Regions from separate parts of the Homo sapiens genome. Here regions 1, 2, 3, 4, 6 and 7 are each linked to region 5. The links are contacts of gene promoters, found by promoter capture Hi-C in blood cells and fetal thymus (Javierre and others, 2016). All regions are on one chromosome and are shown on one strand. Each heading gives the region's core, a stretch centred on a gene start or on the middle of the fragment in contact. The rest is flanking DNA. Distances are from core to core; before and after follow the strand shown. Region 1 overlaps ZNF383 (zinc finger protein 383). Region 2 overlaps ZNF585B (zinc finger protein 585B). Region 3 has its middle 4.2 kb from the start of ZNF875. Region 4 overlaps ZNF585A (zinc finger protein 585A). Region 5 holds the start of ZNF227 (zinc finger protein 227). Region 6 overlaps ZNF569 (zinc finger protein 569). Region 7 overlaps ZNF585B (zinc finger protein 585B).

Region 1 (3,648 bases), core at 1,097-3,596, 7.0 Mb before region 5:
CTCCCTCTTTAGGCAACACTTATCCTGACTTTGATAATCGTTATTTTCTTCTTGACTTTTTAAAAAAAGTTTTGTTTTGTTTTGTTTTTTACCACATATCTGCTTATCCCTAAACAATATAGTTTAGTTTTGCCTTTTTAACACTATATAAATTAAATTGTACTGTATGATGTTGTTTTGAGTCTTGCCTTTCTTATAAAATACTATATTTGTTAGCCTCACTCTCGCTGCTATACATAGCTGCAGTTCAGACGTTGGTTATTTCCTGTATGACAGGGCTGCTGTGAAAATGTTTTTACAAGTATACCAGCATATATGCATACCTTTCCAGGATATAAGTGTATGAAGGAATTGCTGGGCCATACAGTATGTTTTGCATCTTTAAATTTCCTAGATAATGCTGAACTGATCTACAATATAGTTTTATAAATTAAATTCCTACCGACAGCTTATAAACATTATAGTCATCTTGTATTCTAACACATGGTCATTTGGTATTCTAATCTTTAATGAATCTGCTGATACCATGATATATCATGTTGTTTTAAAAGTATAACATACATTCTGGGGCCAGGCATGGTGACTCATGCCTGTAATCCCAGCACTTTGGGAGGCCTACTGGGCAGATTGCTTGAGCCCAGGAGTTTGAGACAAGCCTGGGCAAGATGGTGAAACCCCATCTCTACAAAAAGTACAAAAATTAACCAGGCATGGTTACATGCTGCTATTGTCCCAGGTATTCAGGGGATAAGGTGGGAGGATTGTTTGAACCTAGGGAGGTTGAGGCTGCAGTGAGCTGCGATTGCACCACTGCCTTCCATCCTGGGCAACAGGGCAAGACCCTGTCTCAAATATATATATATACCATACATTCTGAAAAGTACAAAATCAAGGTATATGACCTGATGACTTGTATAAAAGTGAGCATATTCCGGGCTGGGCGCGGTGGCTCGTGCCTGTAATCCCAGCACTTTGGGAGGCCAAGGCAGGCAGATCATGAGGTCAGGAGATCAAGACCATCTGGCTACGGTGAAACCCCGTCTCTACTTAAAAAAAAAAAAAAAATACAAAAAATTAGCCGGGCATGGTGGCGGCCGCCTATAGTCCCAGCTACTTGGGAAGCTGAGGCGGGAGAATTGTGTGAACCCGGGAGGTGGAGCTTGCAATGAGCCAAGATTGTGCCACCGCACTCCAGCCTGGCCGACAGAGCGAGACTCTGTCTCAAAAAAAAAAAAAAAAAAGAAAAAGCATATTCCTTTGACCAGATCTCAAATCTGATAAGGAAATAAAACATAACTGGCATTACAGAAGCCCAAGTCTTGTCCAGTTCACTCACTACCCACTTCTCCTAAAGAGAACTAATAGTTTGTCTTCTATAGCCATAGACTAATTTTACCTATACTTGAATTTTGCTTGGCTTCTTTTTTTTTCACTTTTTTTTTCCTACTGTCAGTTTCACTTGGAGATGATGCTTGGCTTCTTTTGCTCAATATTGTATTTCGTATGTAATATGAATGTATTCTGTAATAATATGTAGTATAAATATATAAAATTCATCCATGTTGCTGCACGTTAGTTATAGGTGATATAATGAATATAGTGAACACATTATTATTGCTGTTTAAAATTCTGTTGTATGAATATAACACTTTTTTTTGTTTTTGAGACAGTTTCGCTCTTGTTGCCCAAGGTGGAGTACAATGGCACCATCTCTGCTCACCACAACCTCCACCTCCTGGGTTCAAGCGATTCTCCTGCCTCAGCCTCTCAAGTAGCTGAGATTACAGGCGCACGCCACCACACCCAGCTAATTTTTTGTATTTTTAATACAAACGGGGTTTCACCATGTTAGCCAGGCTGGTCTCAAACTCCTGACCTCAGGTGATCCGCCCGCCTCGGCCTCCCAAAGTGGTGGGATTACAGGTGTGAGCCACCGTGCCCGGCCGAATATAACACATTTTACTTATCCATTCCATTACTGATTGGCATTTGATTTCATATTGAGGCTGTTATGAAAAACGCTGCCGGGAACATTCTTTTACATGTCTTTTGGTGCACATATGAATGCATTTGTCTTGGGTGTATTTCTAGGAGTGAAATTGCTGGGTCATGGTTTCTGTATATGTTCAGCTCTAATAGATACTGACAGTTTTCTGAAATAGTGGTATCAATCTATATTCCAAACTGCAGTGTAGACTTTATGACAAGAATAGATTTTACAACAAGAAGCTTTACTAGAGATAAAGAGGAATAGTTTATAATAAAAAGATCAATTCACCAGTAAGATATAACAGTTCTGAATTTATATGCCTTCATAAAATGGCTTCAAATATATTTGACATAACTAAAAGAAGTAGTAGATAAATCACAATCTTAGTGGGGAGTTTTTAGCACTCTTCTCAATAGCTGACAGAACAAGTGACAAACCCAATAAAGCTATATGGTATTTGAACAGTGTGATTGACAAGCTTGACCTGATTGATATGTATAGAACAGTGTACCTTACAACTACATAATATACTTGCTTTTCAAATGCATATGAGACATTTATCCAAATTGATCATATGCTGGGCCACAAAGGGAGTCTCAATAAATTTCAAAGGAATGAAATAATACTGTAACTTTCCTGACCACAGTAGGTTAAGCTAGAAGTCAATAACAAGAAGATAATTGGAAATATCCCAGCCAGGTGTGGTGACTCATGCCTGTAATCCCAGCACTTTAGGAAACCGAGGCAGGAGGATTGCTTGAACCCAGAAGTTTTAGGCCACCCTGGGCAATATAGCAAGACCCCATTTCTAAATTTAAAAAAACAAAAATTAAAGAAATATCCCAATGTTTGGGATTTAAGCAATGTATTTATAAATAACTGGTGACTCAAAGAATAAATTGTGATAGATATTTAAAATATTTTAAACTGAGTGATAATGAAAAATAACATACCAAAATTATGTTTCTAAAGCTGAATATGAGGAAAATATATAGCTGTAAATGCATATGTTAGAAAAAAATGAATGTTGGCCGGGCGCAGTGGCTCACACCTGTAATCCCAGCACTTTGGGAGGCCCAGGCTGGTGGATCACGAGGTCAGGAGTTCAAGACTAGCCTGGCCAAGATGGTGAAACCCCATCTCTACTAAAAATACAAAAAAAAGTAGCCAGGTATGGTGGCGGGCACCTGTAATCTCAGCTACTCAGGAGGCTGAGGCAGAGAGTTGCTTGAACCTGGGAGGCAGAGGTTGCAGTGAGCCAAGATCGCGCCACTGCACTCCAGCCTGGGCGGCAGAGTGAGGCTCCATCTCAGAAAAAAAAAAGAAAAAAATTAATGTTGAAAAATTAATGATCTATGTATTCATCTCAAGAAGCTAAGGAAAAGTCTAGAAAGTTAAACCCCCAAAATTAAAATCTAGGAAATAATAAGAATAAAAGCCCAAATATAAAATTTTTAGTTTATTTGGTATTGCATATATTTAAGGTGTACGTGTTTTGCTGTACATAACGAACATATATTGAAATACAAAATGAATGTACAGTGAAGAAAACTAACAAAGGCAAAAGCTTATTTTTGGGAATTAATAAAATTAATAAATCTCTAACAAAACTTAAAATATGAAGTAACACAAAAATTGCCAATATCTGATAAGAGGAA
Region 2 (3,442 bases), core at 99-2,598, 7.0 Mb before region 5:
CTACCGCACCAGGCCCAAACTAATTTTTAATTTAATTAAATTTTTTTTTTGGTAGTGACAGGGAATCACTACATTGCCAGGGCTGGTCTTGAACTTCTGGCCTCAAGCCATCCTCCCACCCTGGCTTTCCAGTGTTGGGATTACAGGTGTGAACGACCGTGCCCAGCCAACTGCTGCTGCTTTACCAACTGTAACTTTAGCCTCAAGCTATCCTTCCTATCTTCTAGAATAAAATTATTAAGATACTCAATCCTAAAACTGCCCAAGAGCAACTAAAGTAGAGGTTCACTGAGGTGCAGATGAGACTCTCACCACGTGACTAGAACCCTGAAATGAAATTCCACTACTTCTAATATATCCAATAGAAAGAGAAGGCATGACAATATCCACTGCGATATTGTTCATAATAGTTTCTGTATTTTACCAAACAAACATTAAAACAGCAATGTACAAAAAAGTTAATCTGCTATGCCATTCTGAAATCAAGAGAAAAAAATTGTAGTTGTTTTCATTTGTATACAGAACTAAGCAATCAAAGAAAATGAATAAAGCAGGTTATCACTACCGGGAGACACAGGTAGATGGAAGGCAGAGGTGGGTGAACCACAGTCCCATCTCTTTCACCATAATACTTTTCAATATATTGCTTTTCATATATTTCTAACTTTTGAACTAGGTATATGCATTGCCTATTCAAAAGATTAAACTATTCCTAATAAATTATCACAATATCTTCAGATGGATAAGAAATAACAATACACCCAGGCCGGGCATGGTGTCTCACACCTGTAATCCCAGCACTTTGGGAGGCCGAAGCAGGTGGATCACCTGAGGGTCAGGAGTTCGAGACCAGCGTGGCCCAGATGGTGAAACACCATCTCTACTAAAAATACAAAAATTAGCCAGGCGTGGTGGCTCGCACCTGTAATCTCAGCTACTCAGGAGGCTGGGGCAGGAGAATTGCTTGAACCTGGATGGCAGAGGTTGCAGTGAGCGGAGATCATGCCATTGCACTCCAGCCTAGGCAACAAGAGCAAAACTCCATCAATAAATAAATAAATAAATAAATAATTTAAAAAATAACATTACATCCATGAAATAAGAACGGGATGGCAATAAAAAAAAATTTAGGAAACAGGCTGGGAACAGTGGCTCATGCCTGTAATCCCAGCACTTTGGGAGGCTGAGGTGGGCAGATCACCTGAGATCAGGAGTTCGAGATCAGCCTGATCAACACGGAGAAACCCCGTCTCTACTAAAAATACAAAATTAGCCGAACGAGGTGGCACATGCCTGTAGTCCCAGCTATTTGAGAGGCTGAGGCAGGAGAATCTCTTGAACCCAGGAGGCGGAGGTTGCAGTGAGCCGAGATCATGCCATTGTACTCCAGCCTGGGCAATGAGAGCAAAACTCTGTTTCAAAAAAAAAAAAAAAAATTTTAGGAAACAAACTAGAGTTTTTAAAAATTAAAACATTAAGTTAAAATGTGGATAGTGGTAATGAGAAGCTCAATAGAAGGGCTGGAAGGCAAAAGGTGTCAAAGTTACCCAGAATGGATAGCAGGAAATACATAGAAAATAGTAGAGAAAAGAAATGGAGAAGCAACATCTGAAAAACAAGTTTCAGAAAGAAAACAGAGAAAACATTTGTGTTTGAGGAGGTGGTTTAGGAAGAAATGAAAAAATGCTTTCAAAATCTCAAACAAAAGTCACTTCTAACAAGGAATTCTATTTGCAGCCAAAACATCAATATAGCGTGATGACAAAATCAACAACAGTTTTCCTTGACAGTGCACCTCTCCACTGTCACACAGGTGGCCTCCAGAGACGGAGACATTACCCACGTGTTCATTCTTGACAGGAAGATCAAGTTTTCTTTCAGGAGCACCAAGTCTAGAGTCCAGCTGGTTCCTAAGGCCTGTCTGCCTCTGCCCTAAGGCTGTGGTGACAGATTAGAGCTATCTACTCTTGGACTGAAATTCCACCCCTTGGGACTCCTCCTCCTCACCTCATAGGAGCTGCCATGATCCTCTGGAGCCAGGGCTGAGGATTTCTGGGGTGAGGTCCAACTAGCTGGCATGGCCACACTGGATCTCAACCCTTTTTGTCTAGGGTGCCTGAAGTTTAGTGGTCATCTGTGAACTCAGCAGAGCTGCTCCGAAGAGGTGGGCTGGAGTCTGGAGGAAGGTCTGGCCCAGGGACTCCCCAGAGACACCCAAGAACCTAGAAAAACAATGTCCACGTAGTCATTCAACATTCACTACATAAACACTTCCTGGATACACCAAGGTGCAGGTCCCTGCGCTAGAAACCAGAGCAGTGGTTCCCAAACGTAGGTATGCATTCAAGTCACCTGGAGGGCTTGTTAAAACATAGTTTAAAATTCTCAACTTCACCCCTTCGATGGGTCTAAGGTAGGCCCTAAGAATTTTATTTTCTAATAAGTGCCCAGGAAATGCTGATGCTGCTGGTACAAGAACCACACTTTCAGAACTGTGGAGAACAGTGCTGAAATATGGGAAAAGCCATGAAATTTAGAGTAACATTACTGCAGATTTGAACTGCAGCTGTACCACTTTTCAACAATGAGAATATAAAGAAGTTACTCAGATTTTGTTTCAGAAATAAGGATGAAAATGCCTGTGTCACAGTTACTAAGATTAAATGAGATTATGCTTTTAAAGTACTCAATGCCTCCCTGCCATGCAAGAATCACGCAATAAATATCAGCAATTACCATGCACTATATTAAAACGTAATACAGAAAACCATGTCATCAAAACAAGTAAGATAATAAACATATCAGACAATGTTGATCTATATATGAAATAAAAATGATATGCGATTGAGTGTGCACACGGCATTCATTGTATACATATCCCCAATTGGTGCATGCAATTGGCCATGCATCTGGAATAAAACAAACTAGATCTCCACCTCACACAATATTTTTTTCTTTTAAGATGGGGTCTCGCTCTGTGGCCAGGCTGGAGTGCAGTGACACAACCTCATCTCACTGCAACCTCCACCTCCAGAGTTCAAGTGATTCTACTGCCTCAGCCTCCCAAGTAGCTGGGACTACAGGCATGCGACACCACGCCCAGCTAATTTTTGTATTTTTAGTAGAGTCAGGGTTTCACCATGTTGGCTGGGATGATCTTGATCTCCTGACCTTGTGATCCGCCTGCCTCGGCCTCCCAAAGTGCTGGGATTACAGGCGTGAGCCACCGCGCCCAACCCACCTCACACTATTAAGTAGACAAATTCCAGGAGCACTAAACATTTAAATACATGCATTTTTTAAAACCCCTAAGGATATTAAAATAATTTTCAGACTATATATTTGTATAGCATTGTGGTGGGGTGATAAGGATCTTATTACACATGACAGGAAACCCAGAAGCTATAACAGAAAAAAACAGGTATTTCTGATTATGTTTCCT
Region 3 (3,584 bases), core at 462-2,961, 6.9 Mb before region 5:
CTCACTTTCCCAGTGTTCAGAACCATAAACCAAGTGAACCCTTATAAATCACCCAGTCTGTGGTATTCTGTTATAGCAACACAAACAGACTAAGACAGGGACACTCAGTGAGCTCTTCTCTCTACTTGATGGAGCACTCCCTGCGTGGTGCCTTGTATTTGTAGACATGATGCTGTAAATGCTCTTTGAGTGTCTCGAAGGCTTTTATGTTTGAGGAGTTTACAGAGAAGCCCGTACAGGGTTCAGGTCCATTCTGTTGCTTCTTTGCTCCTTAGTTCCTCCCCTAATCTGATGTTAAATTAGATCATAGTGTGGTCCTTGGACCAATAGTATCAGTAGCACCTGAAAATCATGCTGGAAATACAGATTCACAGGCTGCTCCCCAGAATACTGAAGAAGAAACTCTAGGAGTGAGACCCAACAATCTGTGTTTAACAAGTCCCCAGGTGAGTCTGATGCACAAAGAAACGTGAGCTGCTGTATTAGATGGTGTTGAGTTCATGCCACCGAATCACTGACACACACATCTGCTCACTGCTTGCTCTTCGCACAGGCCCCTGGATCCTCCTGGAATCCCTGATCCCTGTTGCTCCCTTGCGGAGTTTTCTAGTCCCTCTTATTTGAAGCATGTCTTTCAGAGCCTCGCACCACCCAGCTTGGGTATCTGGTGAATTCTGTGGTCTGCATGTCCATGTTTTTGACATTCTGGGAAGGGTGGCCCAGGCTGTGATTTGCCATCTACTGCTGCAGGCTATGGATGGTATTCAGAAGGGAGGGGAGATGCTGTGTGCGTGTTCTGAAGGGTTTCCCACTAAATGGAGAGACTGACTCTCTCCATAAGTATTTGATTTTTACTTTATCTCCTCGTTGACTTCACAGTGTAAGTGCAGTTTGTCTCTACTGGGTGATGCATGCAGATAAATGTTTATGTGAACATAAGAAGTCTGCATGTGTGGGTGAACTCTCCACATCATGTCATTTATTGTCCATCATTACGTATCTGTGGTGTCTAGCACATTCCTCTACCTTATTTTCTGTCATTGTACCTACTTCTACCTGAACACGTATTAAATATCTTATTAAAAATACACAAATATTATGTTTCCTCAGTGGTTTTTTCCCCCTCACATTGGGCCCTCCTCTTCAGTGGACTACAGTGTGGTACCTGCAGGTCTCAGGCCTTCTGGGAGGTTCCAGCTTTTCCTGGATGCTCTCTCTCTCTGGCCAGCTCAGGCTGGAGCAGTGGGTGTTGGTGCCATCCTGTGGCTATAGGTGATAAACCAGGTTGTGTTTTGACCCCTAGTCTTGAATCCTGGAGTTCTCACATGCGTGGATTTAAATGCTGTGTCTTTCTAAGGGCAGATTGTGCCCATTTTCCTTCTCTGCCTCTCAAGGGACTGTTTGCTGTGTTTATTGACTTACCATTAAAAAAAATCATATACATTGATGAATTAGATTGTACTCCATAAATTATATATGTTTGAAAAATAAAGAATATTTTTTCAATTTTTTTCTGATTTTTACCTATCTTTTAAATTGTATATATTTATGGGGTACAAAATGATGTTATGATTTTTCCATACAGTGTGGAATGTTTAAGTCAAATTATCCTATCCATTACCTCAAATACTTGACTTTTTTTGGTGATGAGAATGGTGTTTATCACTTTCACTCATCAGCTCCTGATGTCTTCCATGCTAGGGACAGGAAAGGCTCAACACTTGACTTTCCCTCCTGTTTTCTTAGCCACTGTCAACCCTTGAATGTACCCTCCAGGGTTGCCTGTCACCTTTTACACCTAGCCTGATCCTTGTGCACCCACTTTCCTCTCAGGGACTGTCCTTAGGGAGTGACTTTATGCACAGACTTAATGTGCTCTTCCTGCCTCCTTCATCCCCATAAGCCCCCATCTCAGCCCCATCTGATTATTTCCTCCCTCTCTCATTTCCTGTTATTCTGTTGGTTTTCTAACCTGAAGGGTAACTGCTTACTCCTTAGTTTTCTGCCTTAATTTCTAAGTCATAGGCTACTTTCAGGCTAAAAGTTTTCCTCCAGCCATGGTTTTAGTCTCATTCTGTAAGTCTTGGTTTTTAGTTTTATTCATTTAAAATTAATCTTTAATAACTTTTTTGACTCATTGGTGACAGAGTAATTCCCTCTCTTCCCACCACACCACCCTCTGTCCCCAAGATTCTGGAAGTTTGTTCTTCCCCTTTTGTGATCATTGTTACTTAAAACTTTGAGTTTTTCAAATTAGAAGTTTCTTCTATAAATGTATATAGAGCTTGGCTGGGCGTGGTGGCTCACGCCTGTAATCCCAGCGTTTGGGAGGCTGAGGCGGGTGGATCACGAGGTCAGGAGATCGAGACCATCCTGGCTAACATGGTGAAACCCGATCTCTACTAAAAATACAAAAAAATTAGCCAGGCGAGGTGGCAGGCGCCTGTAGTCCCAGCTACTCGGGAGGCTGAGACAGGAGAATGGCGTGAACCTGGGAGGCGGAGCTTGCAGTGAGCCGAGATGGCACCACTGCACTCCAGCCTGGGCGACAGAGTGAGACTCTGTCTCAAAAAAAAAAAAAAAAAAAAGTGTATAGAGCTAATAACTCCTTGCTTTTTTTTTTTTTTTTTTTGAGAGTCTCGCTCTTGTTGCCAAGGCTGGAGTGCAATGGCACAATCTTGGCTCACTGCAACTTCTGCCTCCTGGGTTCAAGTGATTCTCCTGCCTCACCCTCCCAAGTAGCTGGATTACAGGCAGTGGCCACCACGCCCATGTGGGGAAAAGCAAGAGAGATCAGATTGTTACTGTGTCTGTGTAGAAAGAAGTAGACATAGGAGACTCCATTTTGTTATGTACTAAGAAAAATTCTTCTGCCTTGAGATTCTGTTAATCTATAACCTTACCCCCAACCCCGTGCTCTCTGAAACATGTGCTGTGTCAACTCAGAGTTAAATGGATTAAGGGCGGTGCAAGATGTGCTTTGTTAAACAGATGCTTGAAGGCAGCATGCTCCTTAAGAGTCATCACCACTCCCTAATCTCAAGTACCCAGGGACACAAAAACTGCAGAAGGCCGCAGGGACCTCTGCCTAGGAAAGCCAGGTATTGTCCAAGGTTTCTCCCCATGTGATAGTCTGAAAGATGGCCTCGTGGGAAGGGAAAGACCTGACCGTCCCCCAGCCCGACACCCCCAGCCCGACACCCGTAAAGGGTCTGTGCTGAGGAGGATTAGTAAAAGAGGAAGGAATGCCTCTTGCAGTTGAGACAAGAGGAAGGCATCTGTCTCCTGCCCGTCCCTGGGCAATGGAATGTCTCGGTATAAAACCCGATTGTATGCTCCATCTACTGAGATAGGGAAAAACCGCCTTAGGGCTGGAGGTGGGACCTGCGGGCAGCAATACTGCTTTGTAAAGCATTGAGATGTTTATGTGTATGCATATCTAAAAGCACAGCACTTAATCCTTTACATTGTCTATGATGCAAAGACCTTTGTTCACGTGTTTGTCTGCTGACCCTCTCCCCACAATTGTCTTGTGACCCTGACACATCCGCCTCTTCGAGAAACACCCACAGATGATCAATAAA
Region 4 (3,607 bases), core at 21-2,520, 7.0 Mb before region 5:
AAATAAATTAACAGAACTCAGTAAAAAAGTAAAAAAAAAAAAAGCAACACAAAAATAAAAGTCTCCCTGAAAAAAATGAGAAGACCCTGCAAAAACACAAAAGGTGGCAAAGAGCAGATTAAGGCAAGTGAGCAACATGAGACGGAAATAAAGATATTTTTTAAAGAAAATAAGAGGAGTTTAATAAAAACATCCAATGAACAAAAGAATCCTTGAATTGGCAGTGTAGAACTGTTATCATTATTCACAGTACAAATTTAATAAATACTGTCTTAAAGAGTAGATTCGAATATTTAGTTCAAGAAGTTAACATCATAAAGATGACACACACACACACACACACACAAAAACAAAAAAGAATCCAAACATTCCAAATTACATGGAAGACACACAGAAACAAAGCACAAATATAGAGTATATAGTGAAAGATTTATAAAATAGCCACATCAGAAGCATAACATAAAATGCATCTTTCCACACACACACACAAAAAAGCACAAGAACTCCAAAGGATGACATTAAAAAGATGACCAAAGGCATATCTGGAGTTGCCAACAGAAAAGAAATAAGAGCCTCCTCCTTAATATTAGATAGGGCTGAATTGCAGGGGAAAAAATATTAAACAAGGACACAATGTGAAATGAGTTTCGGATGCCGTATTTACTATCTGTGCACCAAACTACATAACATCAAAATTTATAAACAAAAACTATAGGAAAAAGGCCGGGCGTGGTGGCTCATGCCTATAATCCCAGCACTTTGGGAGGCCGAAGCGGGTGGATCACGAGGTCGGGAGATCGAGACCATCCTGGCTAGTCTCTACCAAAAATACAAAAAATTAGCAGGGCGTGGTGGCGGGCGCCTGTAGTCCCAGCTACTCGGGAGGCTGAGGCAGGAGAATGGCGTGGACCCGGGAGGCGGAGCTTGCAGTGAGCCGAGATTGCACCACTGCACTCCAGCCGGGGCGACACAGCAAGACACTGTCTCAAATTAAAAAAAAAAGAACTATAGGAAAATATAGATAGAAATACATTTGTGGTGGGAAACTTTAATAATATCTCTCAGCAACTTGAGACAAAGTAGAAAAAAATGAGTAATACTATAGAAACCTCATAGCTATATATCTTATTGATAAGCTATCAAATTTTTTTCTTTTCAAGTGCCTATACAACAATCCCAAAACAAAACAAAAAACAAAGAAATACCCGTAATAATCTCTCGAAAAGTAAATTTCTCCAATGCTGCAATCCTAATCTTATTGAAGTTTTTTGCTTTTGTTTTCAAGACAGGGTGTCACTGTCACCTAGGCTGGATGTAGTGGCAATGTCGTGGCTCACTGCAGCCTTGACAGGCTCAAGCCGTCCTCCAATCTCAGCCTCCCAAGTAGCTGGTATCACAGGTGCCCCACCACCACACTCAGTTAATTTTGGTTTTTGTTGTAGAGACAGGGTCTCACTATGTTGTGCAGGCTGGTCTCAAACTCATGGGCTCAAGCAATCCTCCCGCCTCAGTCTCCCAAAGTGCTGGAATTACAAGTGTGAGCCACCACATATGGCCAAAAGTAAAGTTAAAAAATGAAAATCTTAAAACCTAGAAATAAAATGTGGTAAATGGTATTTAAAGATTTGGTGGGGTAGTTAATGTTCTAGAAATTCATCCTTTTCAGCTGGGTGCGGTGGCTCATGCCTGTAATCCCAACACTTTGGGAGGCTGAGGCGGGTGGATCACGAGGTCAAAGTTGAGACCATCCTGGCCAACATGGTGAAACCCCGTGTCTACTAAAAAAATACAAAATAATTAGCTGGGCGTGGTGGCGCACGCCTGTACTCCCAGCTACTCGCTGGGCTGAGGCAGGAGAATTGCTTGAACCCGGGAGGCGGAGGTTGCAGAGCCAAGATCACATCACTACACTCTAGCCTGACTACAGAGCAAGACTATGTCTCAAAAAAAAAAAAAAAGAAATTCATCCTTTTCATTTAGATTTTTTTATTCATTTGCATGAGATAAATTATTTTTCTAAATTATTTTTAGTACAGTTTTGCTATATACCAGAGCTTCTGATATATATATACCATTTTTATTGTTTTTGAGATATTTTACAATTTTAGTTTTGACTTTGGCTTTGGAGTGGGTTGCTGAGAACATAGCAGTTGTTTCACTAATCCCAGTAAAAACCTACTAGGCTATTGTTTTCTTCTACTCTTCAATGCAGTTAGTTAACATATTTGACTTCTGAATCTATCTTCATAATTTCCAGTTCTTTCAGGCATCAAGGTTAACACTGTAAACAAAATAAAACAAAAACCAAAAGCAAGGTTGAGAATAATTTTAAATATTATTCTTTACCCAAAACTTCAGCATAATGACCAACTATAAAAATGCATGACCTTTCCATTATTTTTTACTGTGTTGGAAATGCTGAATCAACATTTTAATTTCTTCAAGGACTTTGAACCATTTAAATTCTTACCAATTATATCTATTTTTTGTAAACTTTTATCCTTTTATTTATACTTTCATATTTTTGGCATGATTTTGTATAATATTCATTCATGATTGTTTGAATCTTAGGTACGGAACTAACTGTTTCTCCTGTTTTGTTACATTCTTTTGTCTTTTTTTCAGTCTTGCTCCGTCGCCCAGGCTGGAATGCAGTGGTATGATCTTGGCTCACTGCAACCTCCGCCTCCCAGGTTCAAGCCATTCTCCTGCCTCAGCCTCCCAAGTACCTGGGATTACAGACCTGCACTGTGGCACCCTGCCAATTTTTGTATTTTTAGTAGAGATGGGGTTTCGCCATGTTGACTAGACTGGTCTTGAACTCTTGGCCTCAAGTGAACCACCCACCTCAGCCTCCCAAAGTGCTGGGATTACAGGTGTGAGCCACCATGCTGCCCAGTCTTTTTTTTTTTTTTTGAGACAGAGTCTCGCTCTCGCTCTGTCCCCCAGGCTGGAGTGCAGTGGCACAATCTCGGCTCACTACAACCTCTGCCTCCTGGGTTCAAGCAATTCTCCTGCCTCAGCCTCCTGAGTAACTGGGACTACAGGTGCGCACCACCACATCCGGCTAATTTTTGTAGTAGAAACAGAGTTCCACCACGTTGGCCAGGATGGTCTTGGTCTCCTGACCTCGTGATCCACCCATCTTGGCCTCCCAAAGTGCTGGGATTACAGGTGTGAGTCACCATGCCCGGCTGCACAGTCTTTGATTATGTAGATATTTACTCCATTTTTTGATTGTCAACACATCAACTTGTCAACACATTTTTTGATTGTCAACACATCAACACAGCAACTTGTGTTTCTGTCAAACTCATACCTTAGGTCTTTTTTTTTTTTAAACGTCCAGGATTCCAAAAAGAAGCAATTAAATCTATAGTTTTTCCCCTCTACCCACAGGATAGCTTTAGCACATAAACTTACTTTATTTATTTATGAGACAGGGTCTCACTGTGTCACGCAGACTGGAGTACAGTGGCATGATCTTAGCTCACTGCAACCTCTACTTCCCAGGCTCAAGCGATCCTCCCACCTCAGCCTCCTAAGTAGCTGGGACTACAGGCCTGCACCACCACACCTGGCTAATTTTTCTATTTTTTGTAGAGAC
Region 5 (3,556 bases), core at 623-3,122:
GGAGTACAAGTAATCCACTATGGCTGGACATGTAGAGTGGAAAGTGGATTCCAAGAGAGAAACAGCATCTGGAAAATTCCTGTTTGTGCGACTTGTTAAAGCATTTGAACCTTCTCTTAAGGGCACTGGATAGACATGCAGGTGAAAATAATCAAATTTCCATCTTAGGAGATATACTTAACCTCTCTCTGCCTCTGGATCCCAAAGAGTAAACTAGAGGACATTATTTGTTTTAAAAAAGTTGTGAAAATGGGCTAAGTGTGGTGGCTCATGCCTGTAATCCTAGCACTTTGGGAGGCCGGGGCGGGTGGATCACCTGAGGTCAGGAATTCAAGACTAGCCTGGCCAAGATGGCAAAACCCCGTCTCTACTAAAAATACAAAAATTAGCTGGGCGTGGTGGGGAGGGGGGTGCCTATAACCCCAGCGACTTGGGAGGCTGAGGCAGGAGACTTGCTTGAACCTTGTGTGAGGGCGGAGGTTGCAATGAGCCGAGGTCATGCCACTTCACTCCAGCCTGGGCAAAAGAGCCAAACTCTGTCTAACAACAACAACAACAACAACAACAACAAAACAGAACAAAAAAAAAAAGAAAAAAGTTGTGAAAATGTAGTGAGGGTCCCATAGTCTGAATAGTTTGAACTAGTTCCTGGCACATACTTGGTTCTTTATAAGAGATAGTTGTATATAACAGAATAAAGAATATATATTTAGTAAATGAGAACTGCAAACATGTACTGTAGTAGATATGTGGATATTTTTAGGTATTGCTCTCTTCTTTCAACCCTCAATTCTTGGAAACATCAATTCCATTATACATTTAAGCAAATAAAGATCAAGGTTTAAACACTGAAGTAATAAATTTGTTCATCTTTCAAATTCAGAAACTCCTTGAGGAATGATTACAGAGGCCCTAGTTGCTTTGTGGAGTTGATCTACCATATGCCAAAGCTTGTGTTTTCTATGTCTAGCTATCCTCAGTAAGCAAGTTGTTCTGAATTATATGACTGTGCTATTAAGAAAAGTGGAAATCCATAATATATTCTGCCTTCGTTGCATTTTTTGATTGCTCTTTCATTCTTTTAGTATCTAAAGAGTAGTTTTTCTATTAGTCGATCCTGTTAAATGTAAAAACTTAAAGGGTTTCCTCTGCCCTTTTTTTTTTTTTTTTTGGAAGTGGTGGGTATAATTCTATTAGTACAGGATCACGTGATCTGTTTCTTATAATAGTTTTTTTTTTCTTTTTTTTTTTTTTGAGACAGAGTCTCACTCTGTCGCCCAGGCTGGAGTGCAGTGGCACGATCTTGGCTCACTGCACCCTCCAGGGTTCAAGCGATTCTTATGCCTCAGCCTCCCAAGTAGCTGGGACTACAGGCGCGCGCCACCACGCCCGGCTAATTTTTATATTTTTAGTAGAGACGGGGCTTCATCATATTGGCCAAGCTGGTCTGGAACTCCTGACCTCGTGATCCGCCCGCCTCGGCCTCCCAAAGTGCTGGGAGTCTTTTTTTATTTTAGGGCTCCAATTCTTCACATATTTGCTGTTACTTTTTGTTAATAAGAAAAACCTAAATTCCACTGACATCAGAGAACTGCTTCAGCCTGGCTAAACAGCAATAAGCCGTGAAGAGGATTCTGGATGTTGTAGTCCGGGAGCTCCGAGAATTTTGTCACACTCTCCGTAACCCTCTCTCACTCGCTCGCTCCGTTTTTTTTTTTGTTTTTTTTTTTTTCAAGCGCGAAGAGGGCGGCACCTGGATGGTTTTTCCTTCTGGAAGTTCTGGGAAACGTATTCCAGAACTCTGTCCGGAAACAATTGGGCCGCAGGAGCGCGGGCCTTCTGGGAAGGGTAGTTCAGGAGCTCTGGGCAGGCAGAGCCACTTCCGCCCCGGAAAGCGAGGCCGCCACCATCTTTTGGGTCCGGGAGGTGAGTCAGCCCTGCACCCCCACGACCCCTCTTGAACCTTTTCAGCCTGTGCTTGGGAATAGGCGCTCCCCAGCCATCAGTCTTGGGATGGAGAGGTCGCGGCCGCGGCGGAGGCCGAGAGGCCGAGGGCGGGAAGTTTGCTCTCCTCCCGCACTTGGCAAGCAGCGCCGCTAGTTCTGTGGGTATAATAAACAGCGAGTTACCTATGATCCGCGCTCCTGTTTCCTCATCTTTAAAATAGCAATAAAGATAGTCGTTACTGTGTAGGGTTGTAATTAGAATTAAACAAGATAATACGGGTCAAACCTTAGAACAGTGGTGGCACCTGATACTGGGTTGGCTCCTGCTATTGATACAGTGATTCCCTCACAAGCGCCCTTTTTACTGGAAGCTCCAGTGAAGAGAGAAGAAAAGTCAGGGCTTTATGCCATGGCCTTTCTGTCGTATCCTTCAGGAGACCGAGCTCTTCCCGAACTTTTACAGATCTTTTTTTTTTTTAAGAAGGATTGAGTCATCGGGCTCCAATGCGTGGGGATGTTTACCGCCGTTTATCCGGGATAGAGACTCCATCGTGCTGACAGCATCCTTTTATTCACCGCCTCCGAATTTGCAAAGAGGAGGAAGGAGGGACTTCTTGGCTTCTCCCAGCATAGCCCCAGGTACCTGCTCTTGAACGCACTTTGTTGTTCCATTTTCTGTCCTTTCAGTTAATCAAGTTTCCGTCACTCAGTAAGTTACTACTGAAAAATGATGAAATATTTGTTGAATAAATGTGAGAGTGGGTAGGAAAACTACTTGGAAATGAGTATTACCAATAACATCTTACCACTTTGATTTTAAGGCATTCGTCTGTGGACCATAGCTATTGATGAAGTAGGTCTTGTTATTTTGTTATGAGGAAATTAGGCAGAGTTTATGTTATTAAATACTTTCCCGAAGTTATTCAACTGATAGTAAGAGGTGGATTTGGGATTGAACCCAAGCATTCCTTTTCAGACTGTGTGATCTTTTTTGTTTGTTTTTGTTTCTTTGGTTTTTGTTGTTGTTTATTTTCTATTCCTTTTTCTGAGTCTGTGGTCTTAATCTCAATGATACAGTCGTCTTCAGTTATCTTAAATAGTAATCCATATGGCTACCGGTGAGTCGTTGGAAATCAGCCTTGGGAATGTAGGTATGGATTTTACTGTGGAAGACCTCAAAAACTGCACTGATGAATTTTGAATTTTTTAGAAAAATCCTGCAACATCTCACTTACTTAATTTCATTCCATGTCAAAATATGTCATATTCTAGTTATAGAAGTAATGAATGCTCATTATAGAGATGCACTATCCAATCCAGTAGCTATAAGCCATGTGTGCCCTAGGAGCACTTGAAATGTGTCTAGTCCAAATTGAGATGTGCTGTAAGTGTTAAATACACACTGGATTTCAAAAACTTTGTACAAAAAATGTAAGATGGCTCATTGATAATTTTTTGTATTATATGTCAAAATGGTAATATTTTGGATACATTGGCTTAAATTATGTTGTTGAAATTAACTTCACCTATTTTTGTTTTTGTTTTTTTGCCTTTTTTATATGTTACTGCTAGAAAATTTAAAATTATTTATGTGTCTCAGTATATTTCTA
Region 6 (3,283 bases), core at 686-3,185, 6.8 Mb before region 5:
TAATTTTGTTTCTGAATACCTCATTAGCTTCATCTTTCACTCCTTGAAAGTAAACTCCAGCCATACATAATTACATACCTTTCTTAAAATATACAAAGCATTGCTCCTTAACAGTTACTGTATATTACGTTTCCATGCCTAAAAACTATCTCTTGATTGCTGATCATCAGTTCCTTCTTGCCTTTGACCAATACCTTCTTGTTCTTAAAGAGATCAGATTAAGAACAACTTTATCATTTGATTGGGATATCCGTCTATGTAGATCTATTTGTACTTCTGTATCTCATGAGCTTAACCATCTTGTGGCATTTATCACTCTGCCAGTGCACCCACTGATTTATCTAAGTAGGACTGTGAACCACTTATGGCAGGGACTGGTCATATGGTTTGATGTTTCATGGCCCAGCACAACCTATATAAGAAAAGATGTGCAGTAATTTTGTGCAATGAATTTAAAATAACTATGATTAATATTTTGAGTGCTCTATGAGAAAGTTAGAAAAAGAGATGGGTACTGTAAGCAGGGAAATGCGAACTATAAGAAAGAATCAAAAGAAATGCTAGAAATCAAAAACATATTAATAAAAACAAAGAATGCCTTCAATGGACTCATCAACAAACTCAACACAGTAGAGGAAACAATCAGTGAACCTGAAAATAGAAACTTCAAAAGAAACTTCCCAAACTAAAATGCACAGAGGAAAAAGAATGAAAAACAAAAGAGAACATCCAAACCATGGGAGAACATCCAAACCATGGGACAATATCAAAACATGTATCTATTAAACAGACATCTATTTTCCCAATTAGAAAACCAAAAGGAGAAAAAAGAGAACACAGATGAAATATTGTAAGTAATAATGTCCATGAATGTTTCAAATTAGTGACACACACCAAACCATAGGCTGAGGAAGCGCAAAGAACACTAAGCAAGATAAATACCAAAAAAAACCACACGTGTATATCATATTGAAACTGAAAAAACAACAACAAAAAAAAACAAAGAAAAGATAGTCAAGGAACCCAGAGAAAAGTAACACCTTACCTATAAAACAACACTGATAAAAATTACAGCAGACTTCTTGTCAGAAACTATATAAACAAGAAGAAAGTGGTGTGAAATATCTAAAGCATTAAATGAAAAAGAGCCACCAACCTAGAATTCTCTCTATCCAGGGAAATTATCCTTCAAAGTTGAAGGAGAAATGAAGACTTTCATTTCTAACAAAAACTAAGGGAATTCATCACCAGCAGACCTACCCTGTAAGAAATGTTAAAAAGTTATTTAGGCAGAAGAAAAACAATATAGGTCAGAAACATGGATTTACATAAAGAAAGGAAGAGCACCAGAGACAAAATCATGAAGGTAAGATAAAATCTTTTGGTTCTTTTATTAGTAATTGATCTAAAAGATAAATGTTTGTTAAAGGCTATAATGATAACAATGTATTAGGTGATTACAGCACACGGATAAGTGAAATGAATGACAGGGACATCACAAGTGACATAACAACGGAGAAGAAGGGGGAACTGGGAATACTGTTGTAAAGTTCCTGCACTACATATGAAGCAGTATAGCATTTTCAAAAGTGAATTTAGATTACTTAAAAATACACATTGAAAACTCTAGGGTGACACTAAAATTTTTTAAAAGAAGTATAAATGATAAAGTAAACAGGAGATAAAATGAAATAATATAAAATGCTCAATGAAAACCGTAGTAATCAGACAAAGGAGGGGAGAAGAGAAGAAACAAAACAAAGAAATAAAAAAATTTTCTATTTGCATACGAAGCAAATGGAAAACAGCTAGGAAGATGGTAGTGAGCTAGGAAGATGGTAGTGTTTTTTTGTTTGTTTGTTTGTTTTTGAGACAGAGTTTCACTGGAGACTCCAGCCCAGGCTGGAGTGCAGTGGAACGATCTTGGCTGACTGCAATCTCTGTCTCCTGGGTTCAAGCAATTCTCCTGCCTCAGCCTCAACTGGGATTACAGGCATGCACCACTATGCCTGGCTAATTTTTGTATTTTTAGTAGAGACAGGGTTTCACCATGTTGGCCAGGTTGGTCCTAAACTCCTGACCTCAGGTGATTCGCCTGCCTTGGCCTCCCAAAGTGCTGGGATTACACGCATGAGCCACCACGCCTGGCCAATGGTAGATGTTAATCCAACTACAAAAATAATCACACCAAGTGTAAATGGTCCAAACACAGCAATTAGAAGACAGATTGTCAGAGTGCATTTAAAAAAAAAAAAACAACTATATATGTCTATAAGAAACCCACTTTAACATTCAAGTTACAAGTAAAGAGATGAAGCTAGGCGTGGTAGCGTGCACCTGTAGTCCAAGCTATTTGCAGGGGCTGAGGCAGAAGTTTGCTTGAACATAGGAGTTCAAAGCTGCAGTGTGCCATGACTGCATCTGTGAATAGTCACTGCACTCTAGCCTGGGCAATACAGTGATACCCTGTCTCAAAAAAAAAAAAAAGTCAAGGGATGAGACTGGTGGCCTATCCTTCCCTAGAAATGAAAAAAACAAACAAAAGGCAAAACCTGTCTGAACCAGATTTTCAGAAATTCTGGGAGATAGTCAAAGGTTGCACCCAAGCAAACACTTAACAAAAAAATTTGAGCTTCAAAAAGAAAATAAGTGCAGTGATTTAAAACACATCAAATATGCTAAAAATGATGAATATATAATGGTGATAATAATAAAAACAACCCACTAGGAGATGCCAGGGAACCACTCCAATAACTCAAAATCATATAAAGGGAAATAATCCATTTATTCTGCCTTTTCTGTACAAACTGTACCTAAGGGTGAACAAAGAGTTGACGAGGAAAATTTTTTCTTTAGGAAAATATTCTAGCTAGTAAACGAAGTAATGACAGAATTAGAATATCGCCATTTTGTAGCCCTTACTGAAATAATGGGTCTAGTTAGTAATCATCCATGTTTTCTAAAACCGGTATAGTGGTAAGAAGAACTGTTCTATTTTTAAAACATATGAAAAATATCCTCTTTTTTTTTTTTTTTTTGACAGAGTCTCACTCTGTCAGGCTGGAGTACAATGGCGTGATCTTGGCTCACTGCAACTTCCGCCTCCTGGGTTCAAGCGATTCTCCTGCCTCAGGCTCCAGAGTAGCTGGGACTACAGGTGTGCGCCATCATGCCCAGCGAATTTTTGTATTTTTAGTAGAGACAGGGTTTCACCATGTTGGTCAGGATGGTCTTGATCTCTTGATCTCGCAATGTGCCCACTATGGCCTCCCAAAGTGCTGGG
Region 7 (3,490 bases), core at 316-2,815, 7.0 Mb before region 5:
GCCTTGGACACAGCAGAAACAAGACAGACCAAGTCCAGGTCTCATGAGGTCTAGTGGAAAGGTTGGATGAAAAACCAAAAAAAAAGAAATATTTAATATCAAATCAGATGGTGATGCCTGCAACACAAATATATACAAAATAATACAGCAGAAAGTGACCCCAATGGATGTGTTACTTCAGATACAAATGGTGGGGTGGATGCTTTTCAAAGATGGGGGAAGAAAGCAAGATGCATGGGCACTGGGGAAGCAGTGTATGCCCAGAGAACACAGTTGGTGCAAAAGCCCAAAGCTGGAGAAAGCTTCCTTGGTGCTAAATCAGCCAGAATTGGGATTCTTGACAAACAATAAAAATATTGACCACCTCCAACTGCAGGCTGTCTGAACCCTATGACCCGTTATTATAGTTATAACTTTATACTATAAACATTAAATGTGATTATGTAAAAGTAGAAATAACTAAAATGTTACATGAAAGTTTGATATATAAAATATAAAAATTATATAATCATACGATACTATATATTATATAAAATGGAAACTATTTTGTAGTAGGTATAATATCATAATGTGCTATAACATACTGTCAACACAATATACAGTGTATGATATGCACACATAAAATAAAATACATAAATCTATATTTATAATCTAGTATCTAATAATTTTTCAAATGTCATTTAAACTATCACATAGTAAAATAAAAGAGTACTTCTGAGATTCATCCATGTTGCAGCCAGTGTCAATAAATCACTTCTTTTCATGTTGGGGTAGTATTCTATTGTATAGATGTTTAATTAGTCACCCACTGTTTAATTAGTCACCCACTGTTACATTTGGGTTGTTTCCTAATTTTGGCAATTATACAGTTGCTGTGAAATTTGAGTACCCGTGTTTTTATATAAACAATTTTTCACTTATCTAGGGCAAATACCTAGGAGAGGGATTGGTGGGTCATATGATAAGTGTATGTTTAACAGTATAAGAAGCTGTCAAGGCTGGGCATGGTGGCTCACGCCTGTAATCCCAGCATTTTGGGAGGCTGAGGCGGGCAGATCACCTGAGACCAGGAGTTCGAGACCAGCCTGACCAACATGGAGAGACCCTTAACTAAACCTCTACTAAAAACATATAAAATTAGCCAGGCGTGGTGGTGCATGCCTGTAATCCCAGCTACTTGGGCGGCTGATGCACGAGAAACGCTTGAACCTGGGAGGTGGAGGTTGTGGGGAGCCGAGATCATGCCATTGCACTTCAGCCTGAGCAATAAGAGCAAAACTTCATCTCAAAAAAAAAAAAAAAAGCTGCCAAACTTTTTGCCCAAAGTGAATGTAACATTTTACATTTCTACCAACAATGCATGAAAGTTTCCATTGCTCTGCATTGTTGCCAACTCTCAGCATTATGTCTTTATTTTTAGGCATGCTAAAAGGTGTGTACAGGTATCTCATTGTGGTTTTCATTTTCATTTTCTTGAAAATTAAAGATGTCGAGCATCTTTTCATCACCTTATTTTCCATTTTTATCTCATATAACAATATGGATAGATCGCAAATACATCACATTAAATGAAACAAGTCCGACTCAAAAAGAGAGATACATACACATATATAAACAGACAGAGACACACACAGGATGTCTCCATTTATACAACATGTGGAAAAGGCAAAATTATACAGACAGAAAATGGGCTTGTGATCATCAAGGCCTGGGGGTGGGCAAAGGGATGGACTAAAAAGTAATAGGAGGAAATGTAGGGAAGTGAGGGAACTGTTCTCTGTCTTGACTGTGGTATTGACTGCATGATGTAATTGTCAAAACTTTGAGAATTCCACACTAAAAAGGGTGAATATTACTGTATGTAAATTATACCTCAATAAATACGACCTTAAAATATTACAGTCATGTTCACACAAAAACCTGCACACAGGTGTTTATAGCATCTTTATTCATAATCAACAAAACTTGGAAGCAATTAAGGTGTCCTTCAGTAGGTGAATGGATAAATAAGTCATGGTACTTCCAGACAATAGCATATTATTCAATGAGAAAAAAAAAAAAAAAAGAGCTAGCAAGCTACGAAAAGACATGGAAGAAACTTAAATCCACATTACTAAGTGAAACAAATCAATCTGAAAAGGCTGCATACTTTATGGTTCAGAGGCAAAATTATGGAGACAAAAGAAAATAGCCAGGAGTTTAGAGGAGTAGGCGAAACACAGAGGATTATTGGGACAGTGAAACGGCTCTTTATCCTTCTGTAATAATGCATACATGTCATTATTCATTTGTCTCAACCCACAGAATGCACATCAAGACTGAACCCTAATTAAACCATGGACTTTGGCCGATAGTGTCAATGTAGTTTCATCAATTGTAACAAATGTACCACTCTGAAGGGGGATGTTGATGATGGGGGAGGCTGTGTATATGTGAGGGTAGGGGATATATGGGAAATCTCTGTACCTTCTGCCCCATTTTGCTGTGAACCTAAAATTTCTCTAAAAACTAGTCTTTTATATAAATGGGCATACATATACATATATATGTCAGCACTAAAATATCACGTTACAATAAATATAAAGGAGAAATTATTGAAAGTCATGTACAGTGAAATGTGTTTTCCTCCATATTTCCTGGAATTCATGAGGAGTGATACACTTAGGAGTAAGGTAAAATGGGAATAATGAAGGGGACCAGACCTTGTTCTAGGGTATGTTAGGAAGGAAGAGGTGATCTCCAGGCACCCTCCTGAGAGTCAGCTGACATTGTCCTAAGTTGGGGATAATGTTGTATCACAAAATATCCAAAACTGAAGGAAGAATAGTGAAGCTTCAGATACAGTGCTGGATGAGGTGAAGGGAGGTAATGGGTGAGCAGACATTGGTCTAAGATGTTGAGCAGCATGTGATGGGCCATCAGATACTGTGAAGAAGTGAGGAAGCAGAGCTAATGATGGCTCAGTAGACATTGATCTAAGGTGAGGTAATGGGATGTGTCACCAAGCACTGCCCAACTAGGGCTTGGGAATTAAAGGGGCATTGTGGCCCTGCTTCTTTGACTATGTTCTATCCTTTGGGCCCCATCTTCACCTCCCCATACTGCCCTTCTTAAAGGTGAAACCATCTTTGCAGAGCCCAAATAGTTCCCACTCCCAGAACTGCCAATAGACTGGCCCCAGACGCCACCCAGCAACTGTGCATCTAATCAGATCATCTGTCAGCATCTGTAAGGCCACTGCTGCCTATCTAGGGCAAGATACCTAATATCCAATGAAGATCCACCCAAGTCTGCTCTAGTTCCCTGCTATTGGCTTCAGGCACTCCTCTCGGGGCAGGATGAGCAGGTGTGTGGATTGGGTTCTGGAGTAAATGCGGCTCTGTCGAGTTGCAACTGAGACAGGACAGCGCTGTGCATGCTGAGGAAAAATGAGCAGGGAGTCTTTTGCAATCATGTTGGAGCTGTGGGATTCTGGAATCATGGCAGGAAA

Evidence for each region. The method cuts DNA at HindIII sites, captures the fragments that hold promoters and counts their contacts. A CHiCAGO score of 5 or more calls a contact.
Region 1: a contact is called between a fragment that was not itself captured here and the fragment with the promoter of ZNF227 in region 5, in 8 of 17 cell types (activated CD4 T cells, total B cells, total CD4 T cells and 5 more). The highest score is 14.1, in activated CD4 T cells.
Region 2: a contact is called between a fragment that was not itself captured here and the fragment with the promoter of ZNF227 in region 5, in 3 of 17 cell types (total CD4 T cells, total B cells and total CD8 T cells). The highest score is 12.8, in total CD4 T cells.
Region 3: a fragment that was not itself captured here is called in contact with the fragment with the promoter of ZNF227 in region 5 in 1 of 17 cell types (non-activated CD4 T cells); the score reaches 6.4 in non-activated CD4 T cells.
Region 4: a contact is called between a fragment that was not itself captured here and the fragment with the promoter of ZNF227 in region 5, in 2 of 17 cell types (total CD4 T cells and non-activated CD4 T cells). The highest score is 7.3, in total CD4 T cells.
Region 6: a contact is called between a fragment that was not itself captured here and the fragment with the promoter of ZNF227 in region 5, in 2 of 17 cell types (non-activated CD4 T cells and total CD4 T cells). The highest score is 12.6, in non-activated CD4 T cells.
Region 7: a contact is called between a fragment that was not itself captured here and the fragment with the promoter of ZNF227 in region 5, in 2 of 17 cell types (total CD4 T cells and total B cells). The highest score is 9.8, in total CD4 T cells.

The regions. Positions count from the first base shown.
Region 1 is chr19:37,220,733-37,224,380 of GRCh38, forward strand. All of the region lies in intron 1 of ZNF383 (zinc finger protein 383), which reads left to right. Among named protein-coding and RNA genes, the nearest start is that of ZNF383, 4.3 kb to the left of the region's middle. The HindIII fragment of the contact is 239 bases long and covers 2,228-2,466 here.
Region 2 is chr19:37,205,033-37,208,474 of GRCh38, forward strand. It overlaps ZNF585B (zinc finger protein 585B), which reads right to left. Exons shown (of 5, transcript NM_152279.4): 2 at 2,008-2,222. The coding sequence starts at 2,079. Among named protein-coding and RNA genes, the nearest start is that of ZNF585B, 3.8 kb to the right of the region's middle. The HindIII fragment of the contact is 4,710 bases long and covers 1-3,442 here.
Region 3 is chr19:37,328,619-37,332,202 of GRCh38, forward strand. It overlaps a transcript of ZNF875 not described here. Among named protein-coding and RNA genes, the nearest start is that of ZNF875, 4.2 kb to the right of the region's middle. The HindIII fragment of the contact is 7,336 bases long and covers 1-3,584 here.
Region 4 is chr19:37,163,416-37,167,022 of GRCh38, forward strand. All of the region lies in intron 2 of ZNF585A (zinc finger protein 585A), which reads right to left. Among named protein-coding and RNA genes, the nearest start is that of ZNF585A, 7.5 kb to the right of the region's middle. The HindIII fragment of the contact is 9,329 bases long and covers 1-3,607 here.
Region 5 is chr19:44,210,660-44,214,215 of GRCh38, forward strand. ZNF227 (zinc finger protein 227) reads left to right here and starts at 1,873. Exons shown (of 6, transcript NM_182490.3): 1 at 1,873-1,926; 2 at 2,431-2,585. The HindIII fragment of the contact is 5,683 bases long and covers 949-3,556 here.
Region 6 is chr19:37,458,293-37,461,575 of GRCh38, forward strand. The region is part of intron 2 of ZNF569 (zinc finger protein 569); the gene reads right to left. Among named protein-coding and RNA genes, the nearest start is that of ZNF569, 7.5 kb to the right of the region's middle. The HindIII fragment of the contact is 7,320 bases long and covers 1-3,283 here.
Region 7 is chr19:37,179,648-37,183,137 of GRCh38, forward strand. It overlaps ZNF585B (zinc finger protein 585B), which reads right to left. Exons shown (of 5, transcript NM_152279.4): 5 at 1,932-3,490. Among named protein-coding and RNA genes, the nearest start is that of ZNF585A, 8.7 kb to the left of the region's middle. The HindIII fragment of the contact is 2,530 bases long and covers 301-2,830 here.